Regions from separate parts of the Homo sapiens genome. Here regions 2 and 3 are each linked to region 1. Evidence: promoter capture Hi-C in human tissues and cell types (Jung and others, 2019). All regions are on one chromosome and are shown on one strand. The core of a region is centred on a gene start or on the middle of the fragment in contact, and the rest is flanking DNA. Distances in the headings are between cores, read along the strand shown.

Evidence for each region. Contacts are between HindIII fragments. The study calls those that stand out against the background at their distance.
Region 2: a fragment that was not itself captured here is called in contact with the fragment with the promoter of PPM1E in region 1 in 1 of the 25 tissues and cell types used here (pancreas).
Region 3: a fragment that was not itself captured here is called in contact with the fragment with the promoter of PPM1E in region 1 in 1 of the 25 tissues and cell types used here (adrenal gland).

What each region holds. Positions count from the first base shown.
Region 1 is chr17:58,754,048-58,758,001 of GRCh38, reverse strand. PPM1E (protein phosphatase, Mg2+/Mn2+ dependent 1E) reads right to left here and starts at 2,148. Exons shown (of 7, transcript NM_014906.5): 1 at 1,541-2,148. The coding sequence starts at 2,004. It overlaps LOC105371843 (a long non-coding RNA gene), which reads left to right and starts at 1,892. Exons shown (of 3, transcript XR_007065866.1): 1 at 1,892-1,971. RefSeq lists silencers at 1,992-2,140, 2,140-2,329. The HindIII fragment of the contact is 13,854 bases long and covers 1-3,954 here.
Region 2 is chr17:58,710,320-58,714,273 of GRCh38, reverse strand. The region is part of intron 5 of RAD51C (RAD51 paralog C); the gene reads right to left. Among named protein-coding and RNA genes, the nearest start is that of RAD51C, 20 kb to the right of the region's middle. The HindIII fragment of the contact is 4,613 bases long and covers 195-3,954 here.
Region 3 is chr17:58,788,540-58,792,493 of GRCh38, reverse strand. All of the region lies in intron 1 of PPM1E (protein phosphatase, Mg2+/Mn2+ dependent 1E), which reads right to left. Among named protein-coding and RNA genes, the nearest start is that of PPM1E, 35 kb to the right of the region's middle. The HindIII fragment of the contact is 7,145 bases long and covers 1-3,954 here.

The DNA of each region.
Region 1 (3,954 bases), core at 899-3,398:
AGGGAGCTTTATCTTTAAATACTGTAAAAAATTACATCTCAGAAGCCCTTGTCTATGATAGTTCACAAAGACCAGATATACTCTAAAATGTTAATACTGTTTATCTCTGGGTGGTGGTATTACACGCCATTTTATATTTTACGTTTCTCAAAAAGCATCATTACCTTGCTAATTGACGGTAATACTGTAATTGAACAGTATTTTAAAATTAAATTTTAGATAGCTTATATTATGAAATACCAACACAGTCCACTTCTATGGAAGATTTGTTAAATGATTTTCCCCTATTGATAAACTGCTGCTTTAACAGGAGAATGATCTGATCAGGTGTCTATTAGCTTGGATGAAGACAAAACAGGTTTACTTTCCAGGCCCTTCTTTTCTTTAGGCTTTTGAGAAAATCCCAAAAGTGAGTTTGAACTTAATTACAGCGAATCTTGCAGTAGTAAACTTTTTGGGTGGCCAGAGTAACACCTTTCATTACAACTATCAGCTGAATGGCAAAAGACTTCCCAGGTTTACCAATGTTTTCAGAGACTTACTAGTATTCTCCTCTGTCATTATTTCGGAACAATTCCATTGAGAAACGCAATTGTAAACCGTTTCTATTTCAGGCCTATAAAAACCAGAACTGGGATGAAAGGCAAAGCCTTGACCTTTCTATTTTAGACTTTCATCTGTGTAGCTAAGCCATCTGCTTTCTCCCCACCCCATCCCATCTACTTAATGGACTGAAAATACTGCACCTAATTGCAATTTAATCAAAACAGCCTGACTTTTCCACTTTAATGAATTATGGCTCTTTCACCCGAAGGCTTGCTTGCAAAATTTTGCTTACCCTTCCCTCTCAATTCCTTCCCACTTCCCTCAATTATGGAATGTCAAATGTCTAAACTAAGAGACTAGGCTTCCCTGTGTGAAAACATCTAAAAAGCCCTTCACTTTCAACACTGAGCACCTGACGGAAAATCTACTCCATTCTCTCATCTGGATACGGGGCCGGTATAACCATCATTGTTGCAGTTACGCAGGAGGCACCTCGCAGCTCAGTCTAGAAAGGAGTCGCGTCTCTGCCGCCAAACAACAAGGCACTCAGCCCGGGAAAAGACAGACTGGGGTGGGAGGAAACCTCCCGGAGAAAGAAGGGATCTGGGAAGAAGAGGGAGCTCAAGCCTGGGAGGAAGGACCTTTCCAGGCAGGAAAGGGAAAGGTTGCGTGAAGTGGAGCTAGAAGCTGGGGGCCGAGGTGAAAGGGGATGAGGGGCCCGGGCCCGGCGGGAGGGCGCCGGGGCTCAGGAGAGCGGCTTCAAGGCCGGGTAGGAGGCGTGGGGGCCGAGGCGGGCGTGGGGGCCGAGGCGGGCGTGGGCAGCTCTCAGCCGACCGCCCGGGTCCGAGCAGCGGGGGCGCTTTCAGCGGCGGCAGGCGCGGGTGCGGGGGAGAGGAGCAGAAAAGAGAGCAGTTTGAGGGGCCGAGGGAGCCGCGTCCGAGGCCGGCGCGGTGGGGACCGCGGGCCCACCACCAGCCAAGCCCAGCTACTTAACTATTTGTAGAGCTGCTGCAGGCACAGGTCCAGGCTTTCGCCCTCCACCTCCTCGCGGGTGATGCGCTCTGACAGCGGTCGCGGGAGCGGGGGCAAAGGCGGCAGCTGGGGCGGCGGCGGCGGCACGGCCGAGTGCCCCGGGGCTGCCGCCGCCGTCGCCGCGCCCTCCTCCTCCTCCTCACCCTCAACCGCCGCCTCCTCCTCGGGCTCCGGGTCTTGCTCCTGGTCCCCCTCCTCCGTCGCGGCTACCGTGGCCGCCTCCTCCCCGGGTTCCTCTACCGAAGCCTCGGCCGCCTCAGCTTCTACCAGTTCAGGTTCGGGCTCGGGCTCGGACTCGGGTTCGGGTTCGGGTTCGGGTTCGGGTTCCGGCTCCGGCTCGCCGCCGCCGCACGGTCCGCGAAACTCGCCCAGGAATAGCTCCAGGAAGCGCCGGTAAGTTTTCTCCTCAGGGATGCAGCCGGCCATCGCTGCTCATGCCCCAGGGCAGACCGGGAAAGGGGTTGGGGGAAGCCCAGGAAGGGTAAGGGGCTGCTTTTGAGCCTAGGGCTCCGGCAAGGGCGGTTAACGGCCGCACCGGCACGAGCGATCAGCACTAGGTTGCCTGGAGAGGGCTCCCGCAGGCGTGCGCGCCGCCGAGCACCGACGTGCGCGGCCCGGGGGCGGAGCGCGCCGCCCCTCTCGGATCTGGAGGGAAAGTTGGTGGCGGGCGCGCGCAGGGTCCAGCGGCGGCCCACCCTTTATTCCTACGGAGAGCTCAGCCCACGCTGCCTAGAGACTGTCGCCATGGCAACCGGTTCTAATTAAGCATTGCAGGGTCCCTCCCGTCGAGTCCGCGGAGTCTAAAGGACACTCCACTCGCCCGCTCTCCAACTCTGAATGTCTTTATTGGTTGGATACCCTACCCTCACGTGGTTAAGAGTGAGCTAAGACATCTCCAAGTCTAGCTGTTGGTTCCCACTTGGGTTGCTTGGATCCCAATTGGATGTACTTCCATTTCCTTATCTGTTCCTTGCCTTAGCGTATGTTTTGAAAGATACCACACTGTGAACACCTTTTGTTGCAGTCTTTGAATAAGTAGTTTTCAGGCAGAGGGAGCTTCAAATACCTACCAAGTGATAAGTTCCTTTGCATAGGTTCTCTCTCACTTGATTCTGTGAAGAAAGTGGTGTTACTCTCATTTCTTAAAAGGAAACTGAAAATTATGATATTAATGGTAATTTACTTGTTTCAAGGTCTCCAAACTTCCAGCCTTGGCGTTGGAGAACTCAGGTCGTTCAGTCGCCAAAGCTTTCCGAAAGTGCATTTTTCCTTAACTCAACTCTGTCTCCGGAGATTCAATAGTGCAATTGTCTGTATAACACCTTATTTCTATTGGGCTTCATAGTTTACACATTGATTTCACCCTTTTAATTCTTACCACAGTCCCTTGAGGTATAGGACGTTACCGTTATGATTTTTTTTTTTTTGAGACAATCTCGCTCTTGTCACCCAGGCTGGAGTGCAGTGGCGCGATCTCAGCTCACTGCAACCTCCGCCTCTCGGGTTCAAGTGATTCTCCTGCGTCAGCCTCCCAAGTAGCTGGGATTACAGGGGCCTGCCACCACCCCCGGCTAACTTTTGTATTTTTAGTAGAGACGGGGTTTCACCATATTGGCCAGGCTGGTCTCAAACTCCTGACCTCAGGTGATCTGCCTGCCTCAGCCTCCCAAAGTGCTGGGATTACAGGTGTGACCCACCACGCCGGCCAATTATTCCATTTTATAGGTGAGAAAACAGCCTTAAAGACATGGTGACTTTGCTCAAGGTCACATGCAAGGGATGCAACAAGGACTCAATCCAGGTCTTTTCACTGGATTCACCCACTTCAATGGATTTTACCCATTAGTTTTCAGGCAACCAAGACTCCCCTCTTTAGTCTCTGCATAATGCATATTATACTTCATTATATAATATGTATTTTTTCTTTTCTCTTTCTTTTTTTTTTGAGACGGAGTTTTGCTCTTGTTGCCCAGGCTGTAGTGCAATGGCAGGATCTCGGCTCACTGCAACCTCTGCCTCCTGGGTTCAAGCGATTCTCCTGTCTCACCCTCCTGAGTAGCTGGGATTACAGGCATGTGCCACCACGCCCGGCTAATTTTTTTGTCTTTTTAGTAGAGACAGGGTTTCACCATGTTGGTCAGGTTGGTCTCGAACTCCTGATGTCAGATGATCCGCCTACCTTGGCCTCCCAAAGTGCTGGGATTACAGGCGTGAGCCACCGTGCCCGGCCAATAATATGTATTTTTTCTACATTTTGTTTGCTCTTCTTCCCCATCCCCCCAAGTCTCTTTTTTTCTTTCTTGGGTTGGAATTGAAATGACTTTAAGTGATTCTAATTTTCTTACCAAACTACACACAAACCTATTATTTTTAAGC
Region 2 (3,954 bases), core at 1,252-3,751, 44 kb after region 1:
GTGGCTCACACCTGTAATCCCAGCACTTTGGGAGGCCGAGGAGGGTCGATCACTTGAGGTCAGGAGTTTGAGACCAGCCTGGCCAACATGGTGAAACCCCATCTCTACTAAAAATACAAAAATTAGCCAGGTGTGGTGGTGCACGCCTGTAATCCCAGCTATTCGGGAGACTGTGGAATGAGAAGCTCTGGAACCTGGGAGGTGGAGGCTGCAGTGAGCCAAGAGTGTGACACTGTACTCCAACCTGGGTGAGAGAGGAAGACTCTATCTAAAACAGAAAAAAAAAAAAGAGAGAGACCATCAATAAGGAGGTGGTTAAAAAAACTACGCTACAGGGTGGGCACAGTGGCTCATGCCTATGGAAGGCTGAAGCAGATGGATCCCTTAAGCCCAGGAGTTCAAGAACAGCCTAGGCAACATAGTGAGACCTCATCTCTACAAAAAACTTATTTATTTATTTATTTTGGAGCTAGAGTCTCACTGTGTCTCCCAGGCTGGAGTGCAACAGTGTGATCTTGGCTCACTGCAACCTCCACCTCCCGAGTTCAAGTGATTCTCCTGCCTCAGCCTCCCAAGTAGCTAGGACTACAGGTGAGCACCAACACACCTGGCTAATTTTTGTATTATTAGTAGAGACAAGGTTTCACCATGTTGGCAAGGCTGGTCTTGAACTCCTGACCTCAAGTGATCTGCTTGCCCTGGCCTCCCACAGTGGTGGGTTATAGGTGTGAGCCACCGTGCCCAGCCTCTACAAAAAATTTAAAAATTGGCTGGGTGTGGTGGTGTGTGCCTGTGGTCTCAGTTACTCAAGAGGCTGAGGTGAAAGGATTGCTTAAGCCCAGGAGATTGAGGCTACAGTGAACCAAGATCATGCCACTGCACTCTAGCCTGGATGACAGAGCGAGACCCTGTCTCATAAAAAAGAAAACCCAAAAACAAATACAAATACAAAAAAAACCTATGCTACAGTCATACAGCAAAATACTATGCAGCTGTTAGTGTAAAGCAGACTTATAAGTAGTGTACATGGAAAAAAAAAGTAGTATACATGGAAAGATGTTCACAATATATTAAGTGAAAAACAGAAAACTGCTTTGCATAATAGCATGTATAATATGACCTCATTTTCATTTCTTTTTGTGTTTTTGAAGACAGGGTCTTGCTCTGCTGCCTAGGCTGGAGTGCAGTGGTGCGATCTCAGCTCACTGCAACCTTTGCCTCCCAGCCTCAAGCAATACTCCCACCTCAGCCGCTTAAGTAGCTAGAACTATAGGTGCATGCCACTATGCTTGGCTAAGATTTTTTTAAAAATTTGTAGCGATGAAGTCTCACTATATTTCCCAGGCTGGTCTCAAACTCATGGGCTCAAGTGATCCTCCCACCTTGGCCTCCCAAAGTGCTGGGATTACAGGCGTGAGCCACTGCGGTGGCATGACCTCATTTTCTTTTTTTTTTGAGACGGAGTCTTGCTCTGTCGCCCAGGCTGGAGTGCAGTGGCGTATCTCAGCTCACTGCAAGCTCCGCCTCCCGGGTTCATGCCATTCTCCTGCCTCAGCCTCCCGAGTAGCTGAAATTACAGGCGCCCGCCATCAAGCCTAGCTACTTTTTTGTATTTTTAGTAGAGATGGGGTTTCACCGTGTTAGCCAGGATGGTCTCGATCTCCTGACCTCGTGATCTGCCCGCCTTGGCCTCCCAAAGTGCTGGGATTACAGGCGTGAGCCACCACACCTGGCCTATGACCTCATTTTCTAAAACGTAAGTTTGTATATGCATGAAGTCTGCAAAAATATTTACACCAGACAACAATATTTACACAATCTCTGAGTAATGAATAATCGCTTCCTACATTTTTTATTGTTTAGAACTTTTTTTTTCTTTTACAAAAAGCATACATAACTTAAAATTTCTTTTTTTTTTTTTTTTTTTTTGAGATGGAGTGTTGCTCTCTCGCCCAGGATGGAGTGCAGTGGCGCAATCTTGGCTCACTGCAACCTCCGCCTTCTGGGTTCAAATGATTCCCCTGCCTCAGCCTCCTGAGTAGCTGGGATTACAGGCATGCCACCACGCCTGACTATTTTTTGTATTTTTAGTAGAGATGGGGTTTCACCATGTTGGTCAGGCTGGTCTCGAACTCCTGACCTCATGATCCGCCCACCTCAGTCTCCCAAAGTGCTGGCATTACAGATGTGAGCCGCCGTGCCCGGCCAATTATTCTTATTTTATGTATTTTTTTTTTTAGAGATGGGGTCAAGCTTTGTTGTTCAGGCTGGTCTCAAACTCCTGGCTTCAGGCGGTCCTCCCACTTTGGCCTTCCAAAAGTGCTGGGATTACAGGTGTGAGTTACCACATCTGGCCTTAAAATTATAAAATACATTATCAAAAGCCATACATGTTATATATATGTTAATTGGGAAAAAAAACCTTCAAGCAAAGAAATTATAAAGTAAGAGAGGGAAAGTGTGTCCCTAACCCTACAAAATCCCATCCTTTGAAGAAGCCAAGTCTGGGCACAGTGGCTTATGCATGTAATCCTAGTACTTTAGGAGGCTGAGGCCGGCAGATGATCGCTTGAGCCCAACCTCCGCCTTCTGACCAGCTGGGCAACATGGTGAAACCCCATCTCTACAAAAAAAAAAATACAAAAATTAGCCGGGCATGGTGGCATGTGCCTCTAGTCTCAGCTACTAGGGAGGCTGAGGTGGCAGGATCACTTGAGCCCGAGATGTCGAGGCTGTGGCGAGCCCTGATTGTACCACTGCACTTCAGTAAGATTCTGTCTCCAAAAAAATAAAAAAGAAGTAGCCACTGTTAATGTTTTGGTCCTTTCAGATCTTTCTCTTCATATATACAAATATAAATGCATACATATAATTATAAGTTTTCTCTAAACTGAGGTAACATTAAATATATTTTATATACAACTTAAATTTCTTCACTCAATAACATATATGTATATATCTTCTTCCATGTTAGGACGTTTATATTTACATCACTCTTCTTAAACACTACCTACTATTTGATGTTATTGTTTGGATTGCTTTTTTAGTCGGAAAAGGTGAAGCTATTTCTGTTAAAAACATAAGGAACTATGCAACCTATTAGTCTTGAGTGCCCCCTACTGGAGGCTCTTCACTGATATTAACAAAAGGCTAAATTACAATTAATTTAAGCAAAAAGTAATTCAAACACAGGGCACTATGCTTTTCAGCATATGGCAAAAAAAATTGGAAATTCAAAGAAAAAAGTATGCTTTAAAATGACTTTACTGAGGAAGTTCTTTATTTACTTATGATGTATTACAGGTATGTGCTAAGGTCTCTCTAATTAAGGTAAAGACAAAGAAATCAAGTTAAGCAGTTTGACCTTACATCTTACTCCCAGACAAATGTGTGTATTTGTGTCAGTGGTGGGATGTGGATTCAGGGTGGGAAGTAATGGCAAACAAGCAGTTAAAGAGGAGTGAGGTAAAACTTTAAAAAAAAAAATCTCTTCCCTTCTGAGCCGATATTTACTTCTCTCCTCACATTTCAAATCTTCAAGAGTTATTTAGCTCTACCTCAAAGCATCTAGGTTGTTTACACCGGTTATGTTTCAATCCATCTGAATCTGTGATTACATACCACATAATAATCAAAGACTCAAAGGAGAAGAAAACCAGGGATGTTGGAAGAGTTAACCTGAAAAACATCCAAAGTATATTTAAACAAAGAAGACACTGCAATTAACAAAGGTGGCATTTCTTTATCAAACAAAGTCCTTTTTTTTTTTTTTTGCCTTGAGACGGAGTCTTGCTGCTGCCCAGGCTGGAGTGTGATGGCGCGTTCTCCACCCACTGTAACCTCCGCCTCCTGGGTTCAAGTGATTCTCCTACCTCAGCCTCCCGAGTAGGTGGGATTACAGGGGCATGCCACCACACCGGGCTAATTTTTGGTTTTTTTTTTTTTTTTTTTTTT
Region 3 (3,954 bases), core at 776-3,275, 35 kb before region 1:
TGGTGCACACCTGTAGTCCCAGCTACTCAGGAGGCTGAGGTGGGAGGATGGCTTGACCCCAGGAGGCATTGATTGCAGTGAGCCAAGATCACACCATTGCACTCCAGCCTTGGTGGCAGAGTCAGACTCTGTCTCAAAAATAATAGTAATCATTATTGTGGTAATAATAATTAGTTACAATATATTATACTATATAATATTACTATATAATATCATATAGTAATAATTATTATTACTATAATAATTATTATTGTATAAGGCAAGATACAAAAGGATATGACAAAAGTCATGTCCTGGGAACAAATAAGTAAAATAGAAGCTCAGGAAGGAGAGGCATATTTAACTTGGAATCTTCAAGGAAAGTTCCAGTGAAGTAAACTTAAAATACTCCCAAAAGATTAAATTTACATAAGCAGAAAGAAGGAAAAATACCCTAGAAAATGGGAGAAACACATAATAAGAAAGACACAAAGATGGGAATAAGAATGGTGTATAGGGAAGAAATGGGCAAGGAAGAAAAGTGTTAGGTGCAACCTTAGAGGAGAATCAGTCCCTGAAACACATTAAAATGAAAGAAATTAAGCAGAAAGTTCATGGAAGGAATAACAGGAAAAAGGGTTAAGGAATACAGAGGCTATTTATAGAATAACAGACTTCATCTGAGGCTTAGTTTTCTTCCATTAAGTAGACTCATCTGTGTGCTCCTTGGCCCCAGTCCCTCTCATTACCTGCGTAACCTCCATACATGTGATGTAGCCCATTATGATTAAATCCCCAAAACTCAAAGGCATCACCTATAACCTCTGGCAGGAAAATACTGCCCTATTCACATCGATCCTGGGTGTAGGTATTCAGTCCAGAAAACCTGGAATTTTGTGCTTGGGTAGGATGTGGTATTCCTATACAAGTGGATAAAGAGGAAAGTTTTGCTGTTAATAAAGTAATTCTTAACCTTTTTGGAGTTACGGACTTCTCTGAGACACTAATAAAAGGTCTTCGTTATTACTTCAGAAGATATTGAGCATATATGCCACGTGCTGGGGACACAGTTAAAAATAGGACAGTATCTGCTCTCACCAAATGCAGAGTTGAGCAGAAAGACAAAACATTATTAAACAATTGTATGTTGCCATCTCCGAATCATCTAAATTAGGTTTTCCTTTTATTCCTGTTCATGTCCATTATAGCATTTATCATAATCTGATAATCTGATAATTTACATTCTGGTTAGATAACCAAAATGTATTATACTGCTGCATAATAAACCACTCAAATTTAGTGGCTTAAAACAATTCATTCTCAGGCCAGGCACGGTGGCTCACACCTGTAATCCCTGCACTTTGGGAGGCTGAGGTGGGTGGATCACTTGAGGTCAGGAGTTCAAGACCAGCCTGGCCAACATGGTGAAACCCCATCTCTACTAAAAATACAAAAAAATTAGCCGGGCAGGGTGGCGGGCACCTGTAGTCCCAGTTACTCCGGAGGCTGAGGCAGGAGAATCACTTGAGCCCAGGAGGTGGAGGTTGCAGTGAGCTGTGGTGGTGCCACTGTACTCCAGCCTGGGCAACAGAGTGAGACTCCATCTCAAAAAAAAAAAAATTTATTATCTCTCAAGATTTTGTGGATTGACAAAGCTCAGATCTGTAGTTCTCGATCTTCTCACACATGAATGCAGTAAGACAGTAGGGGGCATGAAGTCATCTAAAGGCTGGACTGGACTGGATGTTCACAATGGGTCACTCACAGGACCAGTTGATTCTGGCCATTGAAGTTCAGCTGGGGCTATTGATCAGCGTTACCTACACAAGGCCTCTCCATGTGGCTTGAGCTTCTTGCAACAGAGTGACTGGGTTTTAAGAGGGATTATCTCAAGAAAAATATTTCCAGAGACCCAGACACAAGCTTTACAGCCTTAAGGTCTAGCCTCAAAGTTCCAAAATGTTTATTTCTGCCACATTCTATTGACCAGCCCAGATTCAAGGAGAGGGGAATTAGACTCTATTTCTAGACATGAAAAATAGCATGCATATACACAAAGAGAAGGAACTGATGATGTCCATTATAGACCATCATAACTGGCCATGTATTTGTTTAATACCTGCCTTTCTCACTAGATCATAAACTCAAGACAAGAGCCGCGCTGGGCACAGTGGCTCATGTCACCAGTTTTGAAAGGCCACAGTGGGTGGATTGCTTGAGGCCAGAAGTTCCAGATCAGCCTGGGCAACATGGTAAGACCCTGGCTATCCAAAAAAAAAAAAATTTTAATTAGCTAGGCATGGTGGCATACACCTGTAGTCCTAGCTACTCAGGAGGCTGAGGCAGAAGGATCCCTTGAGCCCAGGAGTTTGAAGCTGTAATGAACTATGATCACGCTAAGGAACCATATCTGCTCCTTTTCAGTGCTGCTTACATCATCACAGTTGCTGGAACAGAGTAAGCCCTCAATAAATGCAATAAATATTTGCTCAACTAACTTATTTATTCAATAAAAATTTCAAAAATGCATAAAAACTGTCAAAAATTGTGCTAGAATGAAAATTCTATAGTGCCTGCCTTCAAGAAATTTACTTTCTGGTGGCAGAATGAGACAACCAAAGCCTACAAAATTAGGCTTCTTGATAAAATGAGATTATGGGACTAAACTATAATGCTTGCTGAATGTCTGACACAGGCAACAGTGTTCTTGTGTGTCACATCAAAAGGTAATAATAGGCAGGTATTTGCATTTTATATATATATATATATATATAAATGACTCTCAGATGTGATCCATATATATGTGCAAAGGATCACATCGGAGAGTCATCTAAGAAAGAATGAAAATAAAGATGCCTTTTGTTCAAATAGCAGGCAGCTGTCAAGTGAGCAAGAAAAGCACTAGTGGATCATAGCTGATTCTTCTGATACTACATCCTATGTTAAGTCAGAGATTAGCTAGTGAATTTTGCAGAGCTCCTGGGATTACCTCACGGAGACACATGATGAAAGCAGTGTAAATTTAACCTACTACTAGAAAGAAGAATGTAATCAGAAAAATAAAGTTAGAAGGCAATGAGTAATGAAGACTGAACTGGGGTGGCCGCAGCAAGAATGAAGACTAAATCTGAGACATGTTTCAAAGGAAAAAGTGACAGAAATAGATGAATAACTAAATAGGGGTGGGATGGAAAAGAATGAGGTATGAGCCTGAAGAAACCTAAAGAGGTGCTATTTGATGTGGAACAAGGCAGAATCTTTATTGGATATACTGAAATGAAAAGTAAAATGTTTCTTATGTTCTTAGAATTACGGGCTTGAGCTCTGGTAACAGTGTAGAGCTGGAGGTGTAGAAGTCAGTATAAACAAACTTCTAGAGAAAAGATCACTTAATTGCTTTTATTAGTCAATCTTTCAGTCCAAAACAGATGTACATTTTATGTATTAGGCTTGATAGTCCATTTTGTGATATGCCATTATGAATATTCTCAATTTTGAGGATCTGAAGGCAGTGTAACTGAAGCATCTGTCAATTCATTATTAGGATTAACTCAGCTAATCTGGCTGCTTAGGTGAGTTCTGGATCACTGACTAAAATTATTAAAAATCATTTCAAGTAAAGGTCAAGTCACTGAATTCACTTCTTTAACTCTTTAGTTGATCAGTTTCAATCTGTATAAAGCATGAAAAGGAATGTTCAATTTGTCTGCCCTAACTCCCTGCTATTGTTGCCAGAGACTGAGGCGGCAGAAAAAGGAAGAGGATCAGACTTAAAGTCTTAGTCTTTAAATTCTGCACTGACAAAAAATACGTTCATTGCTATTATATCCTTGAATATGAGAAATTCTTTTCTGTCCACCTCCTCCTAAACAGCAGCAGATAATTGGAGCAGAAACAAATTGAACATTCTTTTAAATGTTACCAAGAAGATGAAAACTGATCAACTAAAACTAGTTTAAAAGAAGTAAATTCAGG